Regions from separate parts of the Homo sapiens genome. Here region 2 is linked to region 1. Evidence: promoter capture Hi-C in human tissues and cell types (Jung and others, 2019). All regions are on one chromosome and are shown on one strand. The core of a region is centred on a gene start or on the middle of the fragment in contact, and the rest is flanking DNA. Distances in the headings are between cores, read along the strand shown.

Region 1 (4,035 bases), core at 440-2,939:
AAGCAGCCCTCTTTTCCATATCTTCTCCTTCTGCCCCACTCTCCTACCGTGCCCCCACCCTACACCCCACGGGTTTCCCACTCCTTCTCAGAGGTCTGGAGGGCATTCTCCCACCCTTTCCAGTGGACTACCCACAGGAGCCCTGAAGCAAATGCCCGAAGGAAATTCCTATCACCTGTGTGCTCTGATAGGCACTTGGAGCTGGGATGTGGTACTAATCAGTAAAACATACCCCGTGCCCTTTAGCAGCTCACAGTTGATGGCAGTGAGAAATTTGTAAACAAAATAATCTTTCAGGAGAGACTGCAAAACTAGAAACAAACGTAGTGGAGGAACTCTTAGAATGTGGTCCTTTTGAAAGGACTCACACCCGGCCCCCAGAGAATCTGACTTAATTGGCCTGGGTTGAGTATATTGTTGGAGAGTGTCAAAACACTCCCCAGGTGATTCTGACATTAGCCGGGGCCCGGAACCACCCCCGACCTACTGAATCTGGGACTCCAGGAGAGGCCCAGCCACTAGTGGTTTAACAAGCCCCTTGGGTCAAGTTTGAAAACCAGGGGTCTGGGCTGCTAAGTGGCGGCATGGGAATGGAAGGTTCTGGAAGGTGAGCAGTGAGGTTGGGGCGCAGGCCTGGGAAGGGAGAGGCTCTTCAACAGCCATCCCCCCCAACCTTGTCTCAGCCTAGGGCAATGGGCAGGCTCTCCCATCAGAGCCTGGCCTGAGCCCTCAGAGGCAGGACCTCCTTGAGGGATGTGGAGGTGTGAAGACCAGTTCTGAGACCACAGAGGCTCCCTTCAAGCCTCAGTCTCTGACCCTGCGGGCATTATTTCCATGACTTCCAGTGTTGTGGCTCCTTATCCTTTCCCCACAGGCTCGCCCCCCAACTGAGGGCTGGCTTTTTTATTTTTTTGAGACGGAGTTTCGCTGGTTGCCCAGGTTGGAGTGCAATGGGGCGATCTCAGCTCACTGCAACCTCTGCCTCCCAGGTTCAAGCGATTCTCTCGCCTCAGCCTGCCAAGTAGCTGGGATTATAGGGACCCACCACCACACCTGGCTGTTTTTGTTGTTGTTGTTTTGGTATTTTTAGTACAGACGGGGATTCGCCGTGTTGGCCAGGCTGGTCTCGAACTCCTGACCTTAGGTGATCCATCCGCCTTGGCCTCCCAAAGTGCTCAGATTACAGGCGTGAGCCAGCACGCCCGGCCGAGGGCTGGCTTTTAAAACACCGAAAACCCAGACAGGAACGGTGTCCATCTCCAACCCCAGACGGAAACTGTGCCCGCACCCACAAGAAAAGCAGTCCTTTGCCCAGAGCAACCAAACCCTGAACCCCACTCTCGATTCCCCTCTGCCCCCCAACTCTTCCATCCCAGCGGATGGGAAACAGCGAGTCCAGCCGCCTCCCCACCTCGGGACCCCCCTCCCGGGCCAACTGCGCAGGGCACGACCCCGTCGTGGTGCCCCGCGCGCTCGACCCCCAGGGGTTGAGGTGAGGAGGGATCCCCGGTGTCCCGGGAAGCGCGGCGGCTTCTGCGGGTTGCGGGCGGACCCCCCTCCCCGTGGGGAGGGGCTGCGGCCGCGCGGAGTCGCCGCGGGTCGGAGGCTCCTCCCCGGGGTGGCCGCGCAGGAAGCGGGGCGGGTGGGGGCGGTGCGGGGCGCGCACGGGGCCGGGGCGGCGGGGGAGGCGCGGGCCTGGGCGGCCAGCCCCGGCGCACAGCCGCGGCCGGGGCGCGCGGCGCGGGGCGGAAAAGCCTGTTTACACAGACTGCACACCGCCTGGGGAATAATGCAGTAAAGGAAGTGAGCCGGCTCGGCCTGACTGCTCCAACTTCCTGCTCTCACACACACCAGAGGGGAAAAAAAAAGAGGAGCGAGAGAAAGAAAAAAAGGGGGAAAAATCAGGATCTCATTACAAGAGCCACAGACCGTCTGCAGACGCCTGTCAGCATGGAAAGTCGGGGGCTTTCGCCCGGGTCCTCCTAGAAATTCCCCCCGAAGAAGACTCCCCCACATCTGGGTAGGTAACAGGGCTTCTGCCTGTTGCTCGGACACTTAAAAAGTTTGTTTGGGGGTGTTTTCTTTTTTTCTTTCTTTTCTTGGGCGCGGTGGGGGTGGGGCGGGGGGCGCCGCGGGGTGGGCTGCGGGCCGGGGTGGGGGTGGCGGTGCGTCCGCGCGGGAGGGCCGGCCGCGGGGAGGGGGCGCCGCGGATGCTCCTGCGCCCGCGTCGCTGCCACCGCCGTCGCCCGAGCTCGCGCCGGGCCCGGGGCTGCGGGGACCCTGCGCCCGCGGCTCCCCTCCCTGGGGCTGCGCTGCGACCCCAGAGGAAGGGGCGCCGGGCGTGCAACCCTGGGAGCTCGCCCAGGGCCCCGCTGCAGGCAGCGCGGGGAGCGGGGGACGGCGAGACTTCGGGTCCCTGGGAAGAACCGTGGCAGGAGCAGGCTGAGTGCCTGGAGGCTGGACCACCGCCGACCTTCCAGCTGGGACCGCAGTCAGGCTCCCCTCGAGTGGGCAAAGTGCACTGGTGCTCGGATCCAGGGAGGAAGACAGGGATGGAGAGGGCGGTGGAGGACATGGGTCGCGAAGGTGTGGGGCTGGGGGCTGCGTCCACTCTCGCTTGGCAGGTGACCCCCGCCCAGGTCACCGCCCCAGGCGCACGCCCCATCGGACATTTAAAAGCCGGTGGTCTCTATTGGGCATGGTTTTGGAGAAGGACCAGGCAAGAAATGATCTTGGGGCCCCTTCCACTCCCCATCCCTGTTTACCTTCGAACTCAACGTTGGCCTGTGACGCTACTGTAACTTTTGGGGAGGCGGGATTAAGATTTTGGAGTAGTTAAAAAGCAAAAATAAAAGGTCTTGGTTTTGTTATCTTTTCTGAACCGAATCATCCTAGGGACAAGCTGCAGTTAGGCGGCGGGTGGAGGTGGAAGCAAGAAATGTTATTTCAGAAACTGCAAAAGGGGCTTTTTAGAAAGAAAAAAAAACGAGTGTCGGGAGAGTTTCTGGCTTGTCTGGAAACGGCAAGACTAATTGCCATGCGCTTCCGCTTTGAAACTGGCAGCAGACAGCATCTTGAAAATGACTCACTAGAGGAGCTCACAAAGAAACTGTGGTTTGCTCCTTCTTAGGTTTATGTATTTGTGCCTTTTACAGTTTCCTTTGTAGTGTTCGAGGGGTCCCCCGCCCCTTCCCCGCCAGCCCCCTCCCACCCTCCCTCATTTGAAAGCCCCTGGCCGGTCTTTAACTACCCCCACCCCAGTCCTCCAGCCTGGGGGTGGCGGGGAAAGGGGAGGCTGAGTTGTTTTTGGAGTTGGCTGCGGAGAGGGTTAAAGGGATTCTGCTGCTGCAGGGGGAAAAAGTTCCTTGAATTTTCCACTGGCTGCTGCAGGAAGAGAGAGCCCCCTTAGTCATTGCTAAGTAATGTCTGCACACACACCAACTAATCTCATTAGGAGTTTCCGCTGCTCGGCACAGGAGGGGTTTTGTGCAGCCACTGTCAGCCTGGGAGCCCGGCGCTGGGGAAGGAGACAAGTTATGGCTTTATTTACTTAGGGGTGCAGCCGCCCAACGAGCCTTTTCAGGACATGTCTTGAAAACTTTGAAGTCACTTTGGCCATTTTGGATTTCAGATTTGCAGGTTTTTCTTTCCCGCGTGTGTATGTGTGTTGAGAGGTGGGGGGAGATAAGCAGCTCACACACACCCATCTTCTCCATCTGTGCTTGTCTTTGGGGGTGGGGGGGGTGTGGAGCATGTTCCAGGCATCTATTCATGAGCCGAAATCGATTTGTGAGCCTTACAAAATACCCTCTGATCTCTTTTTCTTTCTCTCTCGCCATGGCACCCATTTATTTGGAAAAGGTCAGTTAGGAGTTTCAATTTATGAGGATGATAAAATTACAAATTGTGTTAGGAGGGCACATGGGTCAGGCAGTTAAGGAGACTGTCCATAAGTGTTCTTAGAGTTTCCAGTAATGATCCTGCCTAGAAACCCCCCTGAGTTTGAAAAGTGATGGCCTTTCTATGCCAAATATA
Region 2 (3,853 bases), core at 450-2,949, 54 kb after region 1:
GTTATGGTTCAGGACATGCTGCCTCTACCACTTCACTTCCTAGCAGGTGGTCATGTGAGTTAGGGAAGTGCTCTAAGCTTATTTTCCAAATTTTTAAAATAGGAGTCACAACACCTTCCTTTTAGGATTGCTGTTCAGATTGTATGAGATAAGATATGAATAATCCCATCCACATAGTAAAGGCTTCATAAATGGCAGCTGTTACTATGTTATTACATAGAATAATCCTCACTCGGCCAAGGTTGGGGGATTGCTTGAGTCCAGGAGTTTGAGACCAGCCTGAGCAACCAAGTGAGATGCTGTCTCCACAAAAAATAAAAATGTAAAAATTAGCAGGGTGTGGTGGCATGTACCTGTAGTCCCAGCCACTCAGGAGGTGGAGGCAGGAGGATTGCTTGAGTCCAGGAGGTTGAGGCTGCAGTGAGCCATGTTCGTGCCACTGCACTCCAGCCTGTGCGACAGAGTGAGACCCTGTCTAAGAAATCATCATCATCATCATCATCTTCCTTACTTTACAGACGAGGAAACTCAAAGTGGCACTTAATTTGCCAAAGATCACAAAGATCTAGTAATGGCAGAACTGGAATGCACATCTAATTCTACTTCCAACTTCATTCCTCCTTCCACTTTTCCTTAGCCAAGAATGTAAATCAGGAACATTTTGGTGCTTCTGCCAGCGACATTTACCATTATCATGAGCTCTTACATGGTTTCTCGGGTGCACTCAGATTTTCAACGTCTACTTTTGTATTTGCAGAACATCATCAAGAAGGTGATCGGGCAGAAGTTTGTGTACAAGTTTGTCTCTTTCCCGGAGATCCTGAAGATGGATCCTCACGCGGTGGAGATCAGCCGGGAGAGCCTTCTGCTGCAGGACAGCGACTGCAAGGCGTCTCCGGAGGGCCGCGAGGCCCACAAACACGGCCTGGCCGCCCTCAGAAGCACGAGCCGCAACGAATACATCCACTCAGGCCTGTACTCGTCCTTCACCATTAATTCCCTGCAGAACCCACCAGACGCCTTCAAGGCCATCAAGACGGAGAAGCTGGAGGAGCCGCCCGAAGACAGCCCCCCCGTGGAAGAAGTCAGGACTGTGATCAGGTTTGTGACCAATAAAACCGACAAGCACGTCACCAGGCCGGTGGTGTCCCTGCCTTCCACGTCAGAGGCTGCGGCGGCGTCCGCCTTCCTGGCCTCGTCCGTCTCGGCCAAGATCTCCTCTTTAATGTTGCCAAACGCTGCCAGTATTTCATCCGCCTCACCCTTCTCATCTCGGTCCCCGTCCCTGTCCCCCAACTCACCCCTCCCTTCTGAACACAGAAGCCTCTTCCTGGAGGCCGCCTGCCATGACTCCGATTCCCTGGAGCCCTTGAACCTGTCATCGGGCTCCAAGACCAAGTCTCCATCTCTTCCCCCAAAGGCCAAAAAACCCAAAGGCTTGGAAATCTCAGCGCCCCCGCTGGTGCTCTCCGGCACCGACATCGGCTCCATCGCCCTCAACAGCCCAGCCCTCCCCTCGGGATCCCTCACCCCAGCCTTCTTCACCGCACAGGTAAGAGTCATTCCTGTCATCTAAGCCACAGCCAGCTTCAGTGGCTTAGCAAAAAAGGAAGAGCAACTAAAGAGACTTCCTTCTGTCCCTCAAAACGTTGTCCTATGACTCGTACCGAGGTCACTGTGTAAATGTGAAGGGAAGCTGCTTTTCCATCCTCAGACCAAGGGGTGCACATGAGACAGGGTTTGGTTTGTCGACTCTAGTGGGATGCTTGATTGGTTTCTTGCTTTTAGCGGCCTAAAGTGACCATAGGTGGAACACGCACACTGGCCGACAAAGCAGATCTCACCAGCGATTTCCAAGGGAAAGTTGAGCGGGCCAGTTTACATTTCGGGAGGCGCTTGGGCTTTATGAAATTTTTATGGCAGAATCTTCTCTGGGGGCGCTTAATAAGGAGCCACTTGTGTTCTGTTAACAAGAAAATAGATGTCAACTGATGCCGCCATCGCATGTCAGTGTGGAGCTGTGGTCATAGCGTAGGTAATAAGAAACAAAGGGGCCACCCCAAACAGCTGCTTCGCTGAAAGCAGCACTACTCTGAGAAAGCCCCAGTCCACAGCACTGGCGAGAGGACAGCAAACTTGCAGAGCCAAAAAAGCCTTCGTTGTTATTAGTCCCAAAGAGAAAGCAGCCTTTTCCTTTAAATCAGATATTCAGATGCTCTTTCTTGTCCAGCTGACAATTGCAGTGCAAAGGCGTAGTAGGTGCTGGGAAACCATATTTCTCCTTCCCCTTGAAAATTGGATGCAATTTTAGTGGCAGAGGTTAAAAGAGTATTCGTTTTAGGTTCACAGACCTGCATTCAGTTCCTGGCTACCCTGCTTCCTAGGAGTGGGACTGTGGGCGGTTGCTCTCTGGGCCAGGTTCCATGTGTGGAAAATGGGACCATGGACAGGCTTTGTGAGCTGGGGACACCTGGTAGCATTGTTAACCGTGGAGCTGCACCCGTCCCCTGCCTCTGTAATCTCATCGTAGTTGTCCCTGTTGTCATTAGCAGCAGCCGCGGCAGCATATGACGGGCTCCCCACGTGTGCCAGGCACTGCTCCAGATGCTTTACATGCATTGCCTGTATCCACACTTACAGCAGCCCTGTCACGTGGATACAGGTTGAGCATCCTGTTTCCAAAATGCTTGTGACCAGAAGCATTTCAGAGTTCAGATGTTTTCAGATTTTGGAATATTTGCATGATACTTGCCAGTTGAATATCCCACATCTGAAAATCTGAAATCCAAAATGTTGCAATGAGCATTTCCTTGGAGTGTCATGTCAGGACTCAGAAAGTTTCAGATTCTGGAGGATTTGGGATTTGGGAATTTTTGGATTTGGGATGCTGAGCCTGTGCTATTATTATCATCCTGTTTCCCAGCTGAGATAAATGAGGCACAGAGGTAAAGTAGTTCGTCCAGGGTCCCACAGCCAATAGGTGGTAGAGGTGGCTTTGGATCCAGTGTCTGCCTCCAGAATCCATGCTCTCAAATGAAATGCATTCCCGCTGCGAGAAGGCAGTGTCCCTGATCACGATGGCCGTCCATGGAGCACCTGAAAGCAGCTCTGGGCCACTGTCCTCTCCACGCTTTCTCTGGACTGGATTCTGCCCAGGATTTCATGACAGCTCAAGCCTGTGAGCTGGTGGTGACGCGCGCCACTGCGGAGGGGGAGGGCCAGGGGATCAGGATATAGGTCAGAGTGAGCACGTGTGCTCTTAAATCAGGCATCTTCCAGTTAAGCAAGGCTGTCCAGTGACCAAGGGCTGCTGAGCAAATGGCTCAGAAACAGCAGCTCCTGATGTAGCTCAGGGGAGTATCTTGAGAGGCAGGGCCAGGGTAGATGATCTGAGCATCTCCTCCCCTGGCCTCCTGTGTGTTTACAACTGTCAGGGTGAGAAAGGTCCGAAGCCAGGCCAGGGCTGACTCTGATTTAGGTGTCTGTGTTCCCTGGGAGCCTGGATCACCTTCTCAGAACAGAGTGAGGCAGATGCCAGCCCTGTCTCAGAGGAAGTCAGCTCAGCCAGCCCTGTGGATAATGTGGATGGAGTGGTGGCTCCCATCGGTGGGGCTGAGGGCGTGAGAGAAGGATCAAGGGTGGATGCCCAACAAATGGATGCAGAGGGCACGACCAGGAGCCAGAAGCCACCAGCATGGCCTGAAACTAGGTGGGAAGGCGTAGGAAAGCCAGGATCTTTACAAGAGGACCTGTGCCTTAGGCAGTGAGGGTGCCTGGTCCTCAGCCAAGCTGTGAGGGTGGGGCTGTGATGATTTAGTGCCAGGAAGCCCAGAAATGGTCCTGAGGGGAGGGA

What was found. The method cuts DNA at HindIII sites, captures the fragments that hold promoters and counts their contacts. A contact is called where the count stands out against the background at its distance.
Region 2: a fragment that was not itself captured here is called in contact with the fragment with the promoter of ELK3 in region 1 in 1 of the 25 tissues and cell types used here (heart right ventricle).

The regions. Positions count from the first base shown.
Region 1 is chr12:96,192,686-96,196,720 of GRCh38, forward strand. ELK3 (ETS transcription factor ELK3) reads left to right here and starts at 1,690. Exons shown (of 5, transcript NM_005230.4): 1 at 1,690-2,020. RefSeq lists a silencer at 1,515-1,654 and an enhancer at 2,986-3,065. The HindIII fragment of the contact is 13,150 bases long and covers 1-4,035 here.
Region 2 is chr12:96,246,183-96,250,035 of GRCh38, forward strand. ELK3 (ETS transcription factor ELK3) reads left to right here. Exons shown (of 5, transcript NM_005230.4): 3 at 758-1,552. Among named protein-coding and RNA genes, the nearest start is that of ELK3, 54 kb to the left of the region's middle. The HindIII fragment of the contact is 8,099 bases long and covers 1-3,853 here.